Linked DNA regions of Homo sapiens: regions 1, 2 and 4 are each linked to region 3. The links are contacts of gene promoters, found by promoter capture Hi-C in blood cells and fetal thymus (Javierre and others, 2016). All regions are on one chromosome and are shown on one strand. Each heading gives the region's core, a stretch centred on a gene start or on the middle of the fragment in contact. The rest is flanking DNA. Distances are from core to core; before and after follow the strand shown. Region 1 overlaps PAN2 (poly(A) specific ribonuclease subunit PAN2). Region 2 has its middle 3.5 kb from the start of GLS2. Region 3 holds the start of RPS26 (ribosomal protein S26). Region 4 has its middle 12 kb from the start of TMT1B.

Region 1 (3,876 bases), core at 1-2,500, 280 kb before region 3:
TGGTGGATTACTTGACTCAATACTCGGGTATAAAGCCTGGTGACCTCGATGCCAAAATTTCCTCCAAGCACCTAACAACTCTCAAGTCTACCTACTTAAAGCTTCGTTTTCTCATTGACATTGGAGTCAAGTTTGTGGGTCATGGCCTGCAGAAGGACTTCCGGGTCATCAACCTGATGGTTTGGCAGGGCTCTTTTAAGAGTCTTCTTGTGAGAGTGGGCCCCTCAGGGTATACATTGTGCCTTTAGAGAATGGGGAATTATAGGTCCCCTACCTTAAGTCTCCCCCTCTTTTATCCTTGCCAGGTGCCCAAGGACCAAGTCCTTGACACTGTCTACCTGTTCCATATGCCCCGAAAACGAATGATTTCCCTGCGATTCCTTGCTTGGTACTTTCTGGGTGAGTTGCTCTGCCTTGTAGGCCCCTGCTACATTAATAGCAGAAGCAGCCATTTAAAAAAAAAGAAATCATGTTCTTTGCGGCAACATGGATGGAGCTGTGGGCCATCATACTAAGTGAACTAACTCAGAAACAGAAAATCAAATACCACATATTCTCACTTATAAGTTGGAACTAAACAATGAGTACATATGGACATAAGAATGACATTAGGGACTCTAAAAGTTGGGGTGGTGGGTGAGGGGTGAGGGTTGAAAATTACGTATTGGGTGCATAGTTCACTATTTGCATATTAGGGATACCAGAAGCCCAGTCCCCACCAGTACACGATACACCCATGTAACAAACATGCACATGTACCCCAAATCTAAAATAAAATTTAAATATAAAAAATAAAAGCATGGGGGGAAAAGAAAAAGTAGGAAAAGTGTTAGAGGACAAAATGGGAGTAGGGGAGACCCTCAGTTAGTGGTGACAGTTACTAATGGATTTAATTAACTTCAATATCCCTTCTGTGCACTGAGGAAGATGTCTGACAATTTTCCTTAAGGGCAGTCAGGCTTTTTAGTTTTCTGGAGTCAGGTAGGAGTGGGGAGACATGTTCCTACCTCCCTTTGCTGGGTCCCAAACTATTCCACCTTTACTTACCCCAGACCTGAAGATTCAAGGGGAAACCCATGACAGTATTGAGGATGCCCGCACAGCCCTTCAGCTGTACCGAAAGTATCTGGAGCTAAGCAAAAATGGCACTGAGCCTGAGTCTTTCCACAAGGTGCTCAAGGGTCTTTATGAGAAGGGCAGAAAGATGGACTGGAAGGTGCCTGAGCCTGAGGGCCAAACAAGTCCCAAGAGTAAGACCTGGGATGGGACAAGGGAAACTGGACTGGGTGGATTTTGTATTTTGTTTGTTTGTGACAGGGTCTCACTCTGTCACCCAGGCTGAAGTGCAGTAGCGTGATTACAGCTCACTGCAGCCTCGACTTCCTGGGCTCAAGTGATTCTCCCACCTCAGCCTCCCAAGTACCTGGGACAACAGGCACACACCACCACACCCAGCTAATTTTTGTACTTTTTGTAGAAACAGGATTTTGCCATGTTGCCCAGGCTGGTCTTAAACTCCTGGGCTCAAGCGATCCACCCACCTTGGGCTCACAAAGTGCTGGGATTACAGGCATGAGCCTGAGCGCCCCCAATTGGGTGGATTTTGATTGCACATATGGAGAATAGCACTTAACAGTTTACAAAGCACTTCATCCTCCTAACATTCAGTAAAATACATTTTATCGAAACTCTCCATTAACTATAACTTCCTCTTGCCCAAGTCTAAAATGTTCAGGGAAGGTCCATGCCCTTTTTTCTCTTGCATTTTTCCTTCATAGGAAGTATGAGAAGATGCTTTTTCTCCACTCAGCTTGAATCATGCTTTTGGTTTTGTCTCTGACAGATGCAGCTGTCTTCTCCTCAGTGCTGGCGCTCTGACTACCCTTCCCAAAGAACCACGGCCCTCTCCCTTTACTGTTCTATAGCCCCAGAACTGGGAGATGGCTTCCTAAGTTGGCTATACCTTGTCCACTTCCAGTACTGGACGTGCTCAGGGTCTAGGGTCACAGATGGTGCTATTAATTGAACTGGAACACAGCAGAATTGTTGCAAAGGTTCTAGGAGCCAGATTCATTCCTTCTTCATTCTTTGCAAAACAGTGGTACAGACATGGAGTCTAGAATTGACCCAGATGGAAAGTAATTGGTATTCTTAATATCCTGGGTGACTAATATCCAGGCAGAGAAGCTCCTGGAACCATAACTGTAAGTTCCTAGCTGGCTAGGGATTGAAGTCCTGGACAGTGACAGAGGATACCACAGTAGTTCAAGACTTAGCACAAGTCACCAACTGCTTCAGGGATACCTGGAGGGGCCAGCAAGTAGAGTGTTGGTGGCCCAAGCAAACCAGTGTTGCCAATACCATTGCCAAAAGGGCCTTTGGATCCTGGACAAAGCTTGGCTGCCGGCTTCATTTATTCCTGCTGATGGCTGAGAAGCATCTGTCTTCCATCCCACTTGCCTGTCCCAAGTTTTGTTCCATTTTTTAAAAATTTGTTGTAAACTGCATGTTTTATAAAATAAAAATAAAATATCGTTTGTTATTTATCTCATTAGAGAACTGCTAGTGTGGGTTCTCTGGCTTCAGTCTTCCTCTCCTTCCTTTGAAGGTAAAGGTCCGGAATCCAAAGTTATGGATATGAAAGGGTATAATTAGGCCGGGCGCGGTGGCTCACTTCTGTAATCCTAGCACTTTGGGAGGCAGAGGTGGGTGGAACACGAGGTCAGGAGTTAAAGACCAGCCTGACCAAGATGGTGAAACCCCGTCTCTACTAAAAATACAAAAATTAGCTGGGAGTGGTGGATGGCGACTGTAACCCTAGCTGAGGCAGAAAATTGCTTCAACCCGGGAGGCGGAGGTTGCAGTGAGCCGAGATCACGCCACTGTATGCCAGCCTGGGCGATAGGGCGAGACTCCGTCTCAAAAAAAGGGGAAAAAGGTATAATTTATGCCTTTTCTGGGCAATGCTGGGTCTTTGCTATAGCTGCCCAGTACCCTAAGTCAGACTGAAGATGTACAGTATGGTTTCCGTTAATTGTGTAAGCCGACAAACTACAGGTCCCAGGATAGCTTGAGACTTGTAGTTGCTCACAAAGATGGGTCCGGTGCTGCGGTGCTTCCTGGGAGATGTAGTTTCCTGTGTATTGAAACCTGGACTGCTCGCTGGCCGGCAGCGCACCGTTTTGAAGGTCCTAGCCCACCTGGGCTGGCTCACGCGCACGACTAGCCGCTCCCATACAGCACGCCCGGACTCTGTCGTCGCTTAAGGCCACTCCTATTCTACGGCTGACCCCTGGTGGTCACGTGGATCTGTTCGCCACGCAAGTCTGGGTCCTTCGGCGATTGACCGGGGTCCTTGCTGTTCGGGAGCCTCTCCTAAGCTGCCTGTTCGCGCGAGAGTTTGGAGGGGCGGGTTTGGGGTCGGTGTCTGATTGGGGCTCGCACCGCAGCACGCTGGAGTCCCGCTTAGGTACCAGTTAGCGTCAGGGGAGCTGGGTCAGGCGGTCGCCGGGACACCCCGTGTGTGGCAGGCGGCGAAGCGCTCTGGAGAATCCCGGACAGCCCTGCTCCCTGCAGCCAGGTGTAGTTTCGGGAGCCACTGGGGCCAAAGTGAGAGTCCAGCGGTCTTCCAGCGCTTGGGCCACGGCGGCGGCCCTGGGAGCAGAGGTGGGACGGATGCGGGCGGCGAGGCGCTGGGCGCTGAGGGTTGGGGATGGACTGAAGCGAAAGCAATGGCGGAGTCCTTAGAAAGGGGGCTGGTGTCCGTACGGGTAATCACTTACGGGCTGGAGGTGGGGACGCAGGAATCTTCGGTGCAGGATCCAAATGGGCCCTAGTTATTGCTCTCCTCGCTGGCCTCCTGGCCTGACTGAGGGC
Region 2 (3,683 bases), core at 1,050-3,549, 450 kb before region 3:
GCCTTGGGATGCTGTTAATCTATAACCTTACCCGAACCCCGTGCTCTCTGAAACATGTGCTGTGTCAACTCAGGGTTAAATGGATTAAGGGCGGTGCAAGATGTGCTTTGTTAAACAGATGCTTGAAGGCAGCATGCACATTAAGAGTCATCACCACTCCCTAATCTCAAGTACCCAGGGACACAAACACTGTGGAAGGCTGCAGGGACCTCTGCCTAGGAAAACCAGAGACCTTTGTTCACATGTTTATCTGCTGACCTTCTCTCCACTATTATCCTATGACCCTGCCACATCCCCTTCTCCGAGAAACACCCAAGAATGATCAATAAATACTTAAAAAAAAAAAAAAAAAGAAAATTCATACAGTTAAAAAAAAAAAAAAACTTTCCTGAAAATCAGAAAACTAGAATGACAGTTTTTTTGCAAACTGACAGGTCAAAGTAGGTGATGTAAAAAATTTCAAATTATATACAATCTTAATAAAATATGGCTTATGGAGCATTTCACTTAGGTAAATGTGGTTAAAAGTTAATTTAACCTAGTCTTTTAGAGAAGGGTCTCATTTGTTCACTACAGAGTAATACAAGATTCTGACATCTTTCATAGTCTTTAAGTCAAAGAAAAACAAGTATTAAAATACTATTTCTCTAGCAATAACTTGGAGAAGGGAAAAAAGAAAAAAGAAAATGCTATCAAGCAAACCCCGAAGGTATTTTCTTCTTGCTGTGTTGGCAAAGGCTTTCAAATTCCTTCAAATTAGCTTTCGCCTACAGACTTTTCTAAATCCTTTTTAGGAATTCTAGCAAAATCTACATTATTTTAGTATATTTTGTTGATTAAGACTTGCTAGAATCTACTTTAATAGCTATTGGAGAACCCAGATTATACAAGATATTATTTGGAAAAATAGAGAAAATGCATGTTAGGCATCGTAAATGGACCAGTGTGATGATATGTTTTTTAATAGGCTTATATTTATATTTTTTCAGTCCTATAAATGTTCATTTTGTTATTGCTAAACCAAAGAAGAATTAGGAAAGCACACTGGAGTAGATCACAGACACGCTTAAACTTTTATTAAATTTCATTTACTCCATGAAAGTCTAGCATCAAGTTAAAACATGCATCCCATACCTACATCCTCAGTTTCATTGGTCCCCATTCTTTTTTTTTTTTTTTTTTTTTTTTTTGAGATGGAGTCTCGCTGTCACCCAGGCTGGAGTGCAGTGGCGCGATCTTGGCTCACTGCAACCTCTGCCTCCCAGGTTCAACTGATTCTCCTGCCTCAGCCTCCTGAGTAGCTGAGATTACAGGTGCATGCCACCACGCCTGGCTAATTTTTGTATTTTCAGTAGAGATGGGGTTTCACCGTGTTGGTCAGGCTGGTCTCGAACTCCTGACCTTGTGATCTGCCCACCTCAGTCTCCCAAAGTGCTGGGATTACAGGCATAAGCCACCACGCCCGGCTGGTCCACATTCTTATACCCACGTTTCATTCCAACCAAACTAGAGGTAGAGTCCCTCAAATGTTCCTCTCAGGCTATGTTTATTCTTGTAGAGCCCTCTGTCTGAAACACCTCTCGTGCTTTAAAAACCAGCTCCTGTCAGTCACCATTCCTCTTCTATCCCAGTGGCCCTTCACCCCCAGCTTAGTTAGATGTCCCCTTTATACTTTCTTCTGCATGTCTCTACATCACAGCATTTTTCATTAGGAATTTTAAACATAAGCTTTCTCATTTCTCCCAGTAGAAACTGGTTTATTAAATTTTTAAATTTCTGGATTTTCCAGCACTGGACCTGGCACACTGAATGCCAACAAATAAATATTAATTGAGTGAATGGAAGCTCATTATGTCAGAGCCCCAAGTACTTACATTTTACCCAGTAAAATACAAGTTTATCTTTTACAAATGGAGAAACTAAGGCAGAAAGGAGTTTGTAACAATAGTATCATTAACAAAGATTAATAAAAAAATGAACTAATCTTTTACTTGGACCAATTAACATCCTAGCTACAGTCTAAAGAGTAGAACAGGCCAGGTGCGGTGGCTCACACCTGCAATCCTAGCACTTTGAGAGGCTGAGGCGGGCAAATCAAGGGGTCAGGAGTTCGAGACCAGCCTGGCCAACATAGTGAAACTCCGTCACTACTAAAAATACGAAAATTAGCCGAGCATATTGGCGGGTGCCTGTAATCCCAGCTATTCGGAAGGCTGAGGCAGGAGAATTGCTTGAACCCGGGAGGCGGATGTTGCAGTGAGCCAAGATCACACCATTGCACTCCAGCATGGACGACAGAGCGAGACTCCATCACACACACACACACACACACACACACACACACACACAAAATAGAGTAGAACAAATGAGTCTCTAAATCATAAGAAATAAACAAACTCCAAACATCAATTTCCTATCACAGAGGATTAGCTTTTCCTTCTTTCTTTCTTTTCTTTTTTTTTTTTTGTTTGAGACGGAGTTTTGCTCTTGTTGCCCGGGCTGGAGTGCAATGGCGTGATCTCAGCTCACCGCAACCTCCGCCTCCCAGATTCAAGCAATTCTCCTGCCTCAGCCTCCTGAGCAGCTGGGATTACAGGCATGAGCCACCGCGCCCGGCCCGGATTTAGCTTTTATTAAGGATTCAAAATCATTAAGTCTAATCCTCTCTCACATACCACAAAACTCTGGCACAGCCATGGACTAACCTAAAAGCCCACTGTTAGAGACACAAAGAACTTTCTTTCAGTTATGAAAATCTTCATTTCTAGCTGCCCTTGTCATAGTTGGCTAATAGTTTTGCACAAATTAAACTAGATGATGAGTATTTTTCAAATTAGAAACAAAAAGAGGACCTGACCCTGCCAAGCTTTAACCACCTGGGACAACAAACTTGTTCTTCTCCAGCATCTTATACTTTACACAGTACCATTGGCCTCCCAAGTCACCAGTTCATGCTCCATCCTCATGCAAAGACAGCAATATTGTATTGGAGACAGTTAGTCCAAAGGTCCAAGTGCAGCTGGAGCTAGTTCTCTAAGCAAAGAACCTCTGCTTCCATGCATAGATCTTCTTCACTACCCAACCAGTTCCTATTAGTGGAAGAGTGCTGGGAGAAAGAGAGTAAGGAACTCATTAGAGTATAAAGCTAATTCAAAGAGGCAGAAATAGGAAAAAAAGGAAGCAAATTACTTCTGGGTAATGTTTAGAAATTCCCTAACAGATGGTATTTTTCTCTTGAATAGATCAAAACGTTTCAGATAAATCATATTTCTATGAAACAAGGATAAGATTCGTCTGTTACGTATGAAAAAAACTAATGCAGGATTGAGTTTACGTTAAGTATTGAGACCCAGAACTCTGCCTCTTGGGCAAAGCCAAGCATAAAGCAGCAAGCCCTCCCAGAATTAGACGGCTTTCCACGGACAGGAGAACAGATACAGCAGACACAGAATGACTACAGAAGGCGAAAACAAGCAAAAACAAATGTCACTCCATCTGGTTTTAAGCCAAATAAGCCCTCCAACCCTAACCAAGGCAAAGGAGAACTGCCTTTCCACAGAACACACCTGACTGGTTTCAGTACTTGTTTTCCCACGAGTACCCTTGAAACTCATTTTAATCCAAAAATGAAAACTATGGGACAAGCACGGTGGCTCATGCCTGTAATCCCAGCACTTGTGGGA
Region 3 (4,071 bases), core at 1,572-4,071:
AATCCAAAATTCAGATGCCTAATCTCCATTTCACACAGCTATGCGAATTGTGAGGCCAACCATACGACCACAATTAAAGTTTAATTTACATAAATAGCTAGGCGAGGTGGCTCAAGCCTGTAATCCCAGCACTTTGGGAGGCCAAGGCTGGTGGATTAACTGAGGTCAGAAGTTCAAGACCAGCCTGGACAACATAGTGAAACCCCATCTCTACCAAAAATACAAAAATTAACCAGGCATGGTGGCAGACACCTGTAATCCCAGCTACTCAAGAAGCTGAGGCAGGAGAATCACTTGAACCCGGGAGACGGAGGTTGCAGTGAGCTGAGATCACGCCACTGCAATTCAGCTTGGGCGACAAAGACTCCGTCTCAAAAAAAAAAAAAAAAAAAAGAAAAAAATTAAATTACATGAATAAGCTTTCTTCCCCATGAAAATAATGTGTGTCACTTCACACTTGGTCTAACACACAAAATCCCCACCTTATCTGGCACAGATACACTTAACATGCAATATTAAGTACAATTTCCATTTTATTTTTCTCCAGAGAATAGCCTGTCTTCAGTCTTTAAGAACTCAGCTCCTTACATGGGCTTTGGTGGGGGACGTGGGGCAGCACCCTGAAAGACAAAGAAACAAAAGAGTAAATTAAAACCCATGGATCCAAGACTCCCTTCCCCCAAAGAACTTGACCACCATCCTCTCACAAACTGATGTATTCAGGCTACAAATGCATGGGAAGCTGATAGAGGTGGAGGGAGAACACTACTCTGCATCCTAAAAACCAATTCTGATTCTAACACTGCTTTGCAGTGTCTCTAAGCATGTTCAGGTGTGGGTCTCACCTGCCTTACAGCTTAACCTGAGGCACAGACCTTAATTTGATACCCCCTGCACCACAGGAGGAAGCAACTTTTTTTTTTTTTTAAGAGACAAGGTCTCACTTTTGCCCTGGCTGGAGCGCAAGTGGTATAATCATAGCTCACTGCAACCTCAAACTCCTGGGCTCAAGTGATCCTCCTGCCTCAGCCTCTCGAGCAGCCAGACTATAGGTTCACACTATCATGCTTGGCTTCCTTCTCAATATTTTTTGAAGAGATGGGGTCTTGAACTGCTGGTTTCTAGCAATCTTCTTGTCCCAGCCTCCCAAAGTGTTGAGGTTACAGGTATAGGACACCCTGACCCTCCAGGATGAAATTTTAACCATCACTCCCCTGGCTTCCATTCTCCTTTTAAAATACTCACCGCAGGTCTAAATCGGGGTGGGGGTGTTCGGTCCTTGCGGGCTTCACGAGATCGATTCCTGACTACTTTGCTGTGAATTGCACAACTCACACAGTAATGTAGCTTCACATACAGCTTGGGAAGCACATAGGCTAAGGAATAGAAAATAGAGTTATACTGGTATTATATACCTACCTTGCTTTTTTGTTACATGAATGAAGAGCACCTTACATGTTTACGTCAATTAAAACTAAACCTATTTAAATGCCTGTCGGGCACATAAAAGCACCCCCAAAGCACCTGTTCAGCCCAATACCTGAGCACATATGTATAACCCTCAGTTTTACAAGTGAATTAACATCCCACGTGAGTTCATCTTGACACCGCAAGGACCAGACTGACATTCTAAATGCAATAAACCAATAATCCAGTTCCTTCTACACCTACACCCGCCCTAATGCCTACCCTGAACCTTGCTCTTTCTATAAAAGGAAAAAAACAAAGCGACGTTCTTATTGCTCCAAACATCATCCTTGCACACCAAACTAGACGGCCTCCATTCTCGAAACGTTGAAGACATTCTTCCTCACCTGTATATTTTCACAAATATTCAAATAATCAATAGCACAAGAATTGTCAAATTTACCAAGTTTCTAGTTTTTGCAATCTCATAACCGAAACAGGCAAACCTTTACCTCAGAGTAAAGGCTGTGCACTCTATCACAAAGTCACCCTCTGCCCAGAAAAGAATCAAAACGGCAAACAAGAGAATTCTCTTCTACCAGTAACAACCTTAAATACGTGGAAATTGCCTGAGAGGCTCCAAAGAACAGAGCCTCCAAAAGGGCGAAGTTGGGCGAAGGCTTTAAGATACTGGGATCCTCACACAGTTCGCGCCGGTGACCCACTTACCATCGAAGACGCTCGCTTCAGAAATGTCCCTGACTGCTGCGGCCTCCACTATGTTTCGAATGACGAATTTCTTAATGGCCTTGTCCTTGGGCACGCATCGGGCACAGTTAGTGCAGCGAATAGGCTGCACGTGGCCGCGGCCCTTTTTGGCACGACCATTGTTCCTTCTTTTCTTTGTCTGCGACAGGATGGGAAAACTGTTAGGAAAACGGCGCAACTCACCCAGCCTCAGTCCCTTTCCGGCCACAAGCCGCACCGGCAGCCTCCAGGAAGGCGCCGCTCGGATCTCCTGTTTCTCCGCAAATCCCGCCGACCCCCAGAGCAAATGAAATGTACACTCGGTCCACCCCTCAGCCGTGCTCCAGGCTCTCACTTCCCCACAATCCCAGAGTCTGCACCCGAACCCCCACCCTCACCACGCAAGAAGACTCACCATCTTGGAGGCACGGACCGGAGAGAGGAGACGGTGCCTGGCAGGGCCCTCCTATATAGCATGAGATCCCTACGCGGACACCGGGAGAATCCTTAGGAGACGGGCTTCAAGAACGGCAACTCACTTTACTCAAATATTCCTTTACATTCAGCATTTCTGCTGAAATCTAGGGTGGAAATGCGTTCCTAGTGTTTATTTATCCATGGAACAAAGTGCACATGGGACTATTTAGCCGGATGGCGGAAGAAAATCGAGGTTATGTGTCTCCCAGCAAGCCTTGCGCCGCGCCGACTCGGAAGCAATTCTGGACGATGCAGTTTTCCGGTATACGCGACGCTAGGCGTGAAAGTTGCCAGACGCTGGACCACAAGGCGCACTCGTTATTAGAGGCCAGAGAGGGACAGATGCTTGGTGGGAATTGTAGTGCGAAGCCAAGAGGCTCCCCCCTCCCCCCCTTCCCCCCTGCCCCAAGTGCTTAGACCGAAGGCGGCGCTGCGCCACCGGGGGACGCCCTGGGCTCATTTCTCTGACAGTCCTTCTACTAGGTAGGTGTAGGATTACGAAGAGGAAGGCCTGAGAGGAAACAAGCATTTTGTGAATCCCTCCTTCCAATATGGAGAAAATCCCACAATGAAGTGCATTGAGGCTGGGGCTATTTCTCATTCATCTTTTTATCTCTGGCACAGTGCCTGGCCCTGTGGTAAGCGTCTTTATAAATATTAACTCATTTAACTTTGAGCAAGCCTATAGGTAGCTACTATTATTATCCTCACTTTAAAGATTGAAGAATTTAGCCCGGCCTGGTGGTGGGCGCCTGTAATCCCAGGTACTCAGGAGGCTAAGACAGGAGAATCTTGAACCTGGGAGGCGGAGTTTCCAGTGAGCCGAGATCGCGCCACTGCACTCTAGCCTGGGTAAAAAGATCGAAACTCTGTCTCAAAAATAAATAAATCAATTAAAAAAAAAGATTGAAGAACTGACGTGCAGTAGGTATTCTGGCTCCGCTGTACTATGCTGTATGTCACCTAACAAATGGATGGAGGAATAGCCTGGACTAATGACTTAAACGTTTTTCACCCAGATTCATAGCACGAATACATTTTACATTGGTACCCAGTACACACACAAACACGATTACATGCACATGCAAAACTGAAACACAAGCTTTATGAAACGATACTTACCCTTGTCATAGGTGTGCTGGTATGTTCTATTCTTTATTTTTACTTAATCTTTCTGTTCTCTATTTTAATAAATGCTGATCAAAAACCACGAAAATTATTTCACCACTCATTAGTGAATCTGACCCCTAATTGAAAGATTATGTGTAAGCTCCATTTACCTCTGAAGAGCCATCGGAAAGACTTAAGCCTTAGGCTGGGTGCAGTGGCTCACGCCTGTAATCCCAACACTTTGGGAGGCCAAGGCAGGCGGATCACCTGAGGTCAGGAGTTCAAGACCAGCCTAGTCAACATAGTGACACCCCACCTCTACTAAAAATA
Region 4 (3,882 bases), core at 1,120-3,619, 370 kb after region 3:
GCAATCCTCCCACCTTGGCCTCCCAAAGTGTTGGGATTACAGGCTTATGTCACCTTGCCCAGCCTGTTTCTAGTTTTGGCACCTTCAGTTTAATTTTCTGCACAGTCACCAAACGTGATTTACCTAAAACCCAAACGTGCCTTGGCCTTATTTAAAAACTTAAATTGTTTCCTTATTGTCCACAGGCTAAAGTCCAAGATCCTTAATGTGGCACACAAGGTCCCTGTGATCGTTCCCTGGCTGACACCTCAGCCTCTTCTTGGAGGCTTCCTCCCTGCTAACTGTGCCCCAACAACCTGGGTGTGTGCAGCTCTTCTCTGACCCAGCCATTTCACCCGGGGGCCTCTGCCAGGCTGCTCCTCTGCCTTGTGGGTCCCCTGCACTTCATTTGACTCACTCCTCTGTTAGATTCAGCTCAGGCTACTTTTTTGCCCAGAATGGCTTTCCTGTTGATTCCCCAACTCCAATGGGGTTACAGGTCTCTTTTTCCTCCACGCTATATACATATACTGTTATTGTGCTGAAAAGATCTGCTTACATATCTATCTATCTTTTTTTTTTTTGAGATGGAGTCTTGCTCTCTCGCCTAGGCGGGAGTGCAGCAGCGTGATCTTGGCTCACTGCAACCTCCACCTCCCGGGTTCAAGTGATTCTCCTGCCTCAGCCTCCAGAGTAGCTGGGATTAACAGGCATGCACAACCATGCCCAGCTAATTTTTTGTATTTTTAGTAGAGACAGGGTTTTACCATGTTGGCCAAGCTGGTCTTGAACTCCTGACCTCAGGTGATCTGCCCCCCTCAGCCTCCCAAAGTGTTGTGATTACAAGTGTGAGCCACCGCTTCTGGCCCATATCTATCTTCTTTAATGGCCTGTTGCCTTATGGGACACAGTGACTATGCCTTATATATTCTTATGGCCCTAATAGATTAATGATCAATAATGTTTGCAGAATGAACAAATGCTGTAAAGGAACCAAATGAATAATAAAACACACATATAGGAAACTATTGAGTGAAATTCAAAGCACTGTGTGATTAGTGCACAATATATGTGGGACAGACTCTAAGTTCTGTAGGCTGGAGCATTCTATGGGGGGATGAGTTCTCTTCCCTTAGTAGAAATTAAGGCTGTTGATACTGTAAACATTTTTTTTTAATTTTGCAAAACTATAATTGGTATTCCAGAACTGTGCTAATTAAAGTTTGTTTTCTGGACCAACATGGGCTTCACTTGCGTGTTTGTTAGAAATGCAGGCTTTAGGGCCTCACTCCAGACCTACTGAATCTGAATCTGCATTTTTAACAAGACTCCCAGGTCATTCGAATGTGCATTCCATTTTGAGAGGCACTGTCCGAGAAAACAATTCTGTTGCCTGGGAAAGGATGGAGCCTGTGAGCTCAGGTCTTAGGTCTCTTTTGCTCCTCAGGAAGTAGTGCTCTGTGGGGCTCGGCTGACGGATGTTAGAGCCAGACTTCAGGAGAAATAGAGCAAAGGACTTGAATCTAGTAGGTGTGACCAGATGAGCAGGTCTGGAGACTCAGCATCTCACAGGCAGGGTTAAACAGGAGCTGTCTGGGGACTGGGACTGGGACTGGGACTGGGCTTGGCTAAATAGGACTAAATAGATCTAGCCAAAATCAGGCTGGCTAGGTGTGGCAGTAAGTGGGCCTAGATGGAAGTGGTAGGCCAGATAGTCAGAGGCCTGGTCAGCAAGCATGGGTCAGGGTGAGAATCAGATGAGGTAGTTCCTGGGGCTGGGGCAGGGACTGGGGCTGGGCCCTCAGCTCAGAAGGTCAGGGATAGGGCAAGCTTCAGGAATGGGGTGAGGCTCAGGGTTGGGGTAAAGGTCAGAATGTTCAGTGCAAAATGGTTTTTGGCAATCTGAAGCAATATTTTTACATTTTGAAGGGGTGGCTGTTAAAATGTCCTGCTTTTTACTGAAGTTAGCAGACTTTCAGGCCTCTGTTTCTAAGGACATCTTACAGGGAGCATGGGGTGAAGTTGCAGAAGAGCGCGTGCCCTCCCAGCACCCCAATGTGCTCTTGTTATATGTATTTGTTGTGTGACTCCTGCATGTCATTCTCTTGTGTTCAAATACGATGGTTTGATATTTCACAGCAAAAATAATTGAAACCATCCAGATACACGTTAGAATGTGAACTATTATACACTTAAGAAGTTCTAAGACCTCCCTTTTCTTTCTGTCAGGAGAGAGAGTTGTGGATCAGAATTTGGAGCTCGCACCCATGACCTGGGAGGGACTGAGTGACCTGTTAGAGCTAGTGCAGGCTCAGAAACTCAGTAATTCCTTGGTGCAGTCATATTAGTGTTATCATTTTGGAAGGAATATGGTAAAAATGTTAACATTAGGGGCAATATATGCTTTCTTTCTTTTCTTTTCTTTTCTTTTTTTTTTTTTTTTGAGATAGAGTCTTGATCTGTCGCCCAGGCTGGAGTGCAATGGCACCATCTTGGCTCATTTCAATCTCTGCCTCCTGGGTTCAAGCAATTCTCCTGCCTCAGCCTCCCGAGTAGCTAGGATTATAGGCACCCGCCACCACGCCCGGCTAATTTTCTTTTGTATTTTTAGTAGACATGGGGTTTCACCATGTTGGCCAAGCTGGTCTCGAACTCCTGACCTCAGGTGATCCATTTGCTTGGCCTCCCAAAGTTCTAGGATTATATGCGCGAGCCACTGCACCCAGCCTATGCTTTCTTAATATGAAACTAGATTGTCTTGACTTGATAGAAAAATTAATCCTTGCTATGGTGAGGTGTGCTTGCTTCTTTGGTAACCTGTGAAGAAACTGGATGCAGCATGCAATGTCTTCTTCATTCATGGAACCAGAGATAGTTCCTTGCCACTTTGGACCTGATAAAATCTGTAAAGAAGAAAGATTGTTATTATTTGGCTAAAATCTGAAGCTTAACATGGGTTGAGAGAGAGGAAGGGTCCACAAGAAACTCTTTTCTTCTTAAAACCTAGATCTAAAAGGGCTGTTACTTATGTGATACAAGGGAATTAGCTATTATTATTATTATTATTATTATTATTTTTGAGAGGGAGTTTTGCTCTGTCGCCCAGGCTGGAGTGCAGTGGCACGATCGCGGCTCACTGCAACTTCCACCTCCTGGGTTCAAGCGATTCTCCTGCCTCAGCCTACTGAGTAGCTGGGATTACAGGCACCCGCCACCATGCCCAGCTAATTTTTGTATTTTTTTTTTTTTTGAGACGGAGTCTCGCTCTGTCGCCCAGGCTGCAGTGCAGTGGCACGATCTCAGCTCACTGCAAGCTCCGCCTCCGGGGTTCATGCCATTCTCCTGCCTCAGCCTCCCGAGTAGCTAGGACTACAGGCACCCGCCACCACACCCGGCTAATTTTTTGTATTTTTAGTAGAGACGGGGTTTCACCGTGTTAGCCAGGATGGTCGCGATCTCCTGACCTCATGATCCGCGCGCCTCGGCCTCCCAAAGTGCTGGGATTACAGGCTTGAGCCACCGCGCCCAGCCAATTTTTGTATTTTTAGTAGAGATGGGGTTTCACCATGTTGGCCAGGCTGGTCTCAAGTGATCCACCTGTCCTGGCCTCCCAAAGTGCTGGGATTACAGGCAGGAGCCACCACGCCTGGCCTGGGAATGAGTTATTTAGATAAATCAGCAACTTCCAGTCCTTTTACTCTACAATTCTCTGTAATAGTTCCCTGGCGTGCCAGGAAAGAAAATAGTGTAGATCCACTAAAGCAGTGAGAGTGATTTTTTTTTCTCCCCGTGGAAGCCTGGAGAGGCAAGAGAATGCTGGCAGGGGCTGAGATATGATGGCCATGGATGGGGAGTGGATGCACCTGTCCCCATCACCTTGGGTTTGCTAGGAGGAGCCAACTT

What was found. Contacts are between HindIII fragments. The CHiCAGO score rates a contact against its expected background, and 5 or more counts as called.
Region 1: a contact is called between a fragment that was not itself captured here and the fragment with the promoter of RPS26 in region 3, in 3 of 17 cell types (total CD8 T cells, naive CD8 T cells and fetal thymus). The highest score is 5.3, in total CD8 T cells.
Region 2: a contact is called between a fragment that was not itself captured here and the fragment with the promoter of RPS26 in region 3, in 1 of 17 cell types (naive CD8 T cells). The highest score is 5.3, in naive CD8 T cells.
Region 4: a fragment that was not itself captured here is called in contact with the fragment with the promoter of RPS26 in region 3 in 1 of 17 cell types (M2 macrophages); the score reaches 5.5 in M2 macrophages.

Annotation. Positions count from the first base shown.
Region 1 is chr12:56,315,611-56,319,486 of GRCh38, reverse strand. It overlaps PAN2 (poly(A) specific ribonuclease subunit PAN2), which reads left to right. Exons shown (of 26, transcript NM_014871.6): 23 at 1-179; 24 at 306-399; 25 at 1,053-1,250; 26 at 1,844-2,551. The coding sequence ends at 1,878. CNPY2 (canopy FGF signaling regulator 2) reads left to right here and starts at 3,499. Exons shown (of 6, transcript NM_014255.7): 1 at 3,499-3,666. RefSeq lists enhancers at 3,146-3,295, 3,376-3,425, 2,926-3,514. The HindIII fragment of the contact is 2,294 bases long and covers 104-2,397 here.
Region 2 is chr12:56,489,859-56,493,541 of GRCh38, reverse strand. No RefSeq gene overlaps it. Among named protein-coding and RNA genes, the nearest start is that of GLS2, 3.5 kb to the right of the region's middle. The HindIII fragment of the contact is 1,138 bases long and covers 1,731-2,868 here.
Region 3 is chr12:56,040,668-56,044,738 of GRCh38, reverse strand. It overlaps RPS26 (ribosomal protein S26), which reads right to left and starts at 2,821. Exons shown (of 4, transcript NM_001029.5): 1 at 2,570-2,821; 2 at 2,137-2,314; 3 at 1,246-1,376; 4 at 42-620. The coding sequence starts at 2,572. The coding sequence ends at 585. RefSeq lists enhancers at 2,133-2,392, 2,533-2,862, 2,311-3,100 and a silencer at 3,013-3,072. The HindIII fragment of the contact is 3,314 bases long and covers 422-3,735 here.
Region 4 is chr12:55,668,295-55,672,176 of GRCh38, reverse strand. No RefSeq gene overlaps it. Among named protein-coding and RNA genes, the nearest start is that of TMT1B, 12 kb to the left of the region's middle. The HindIII fragment of the contact is 1,116 bases long and covers 1,812-2,927 here.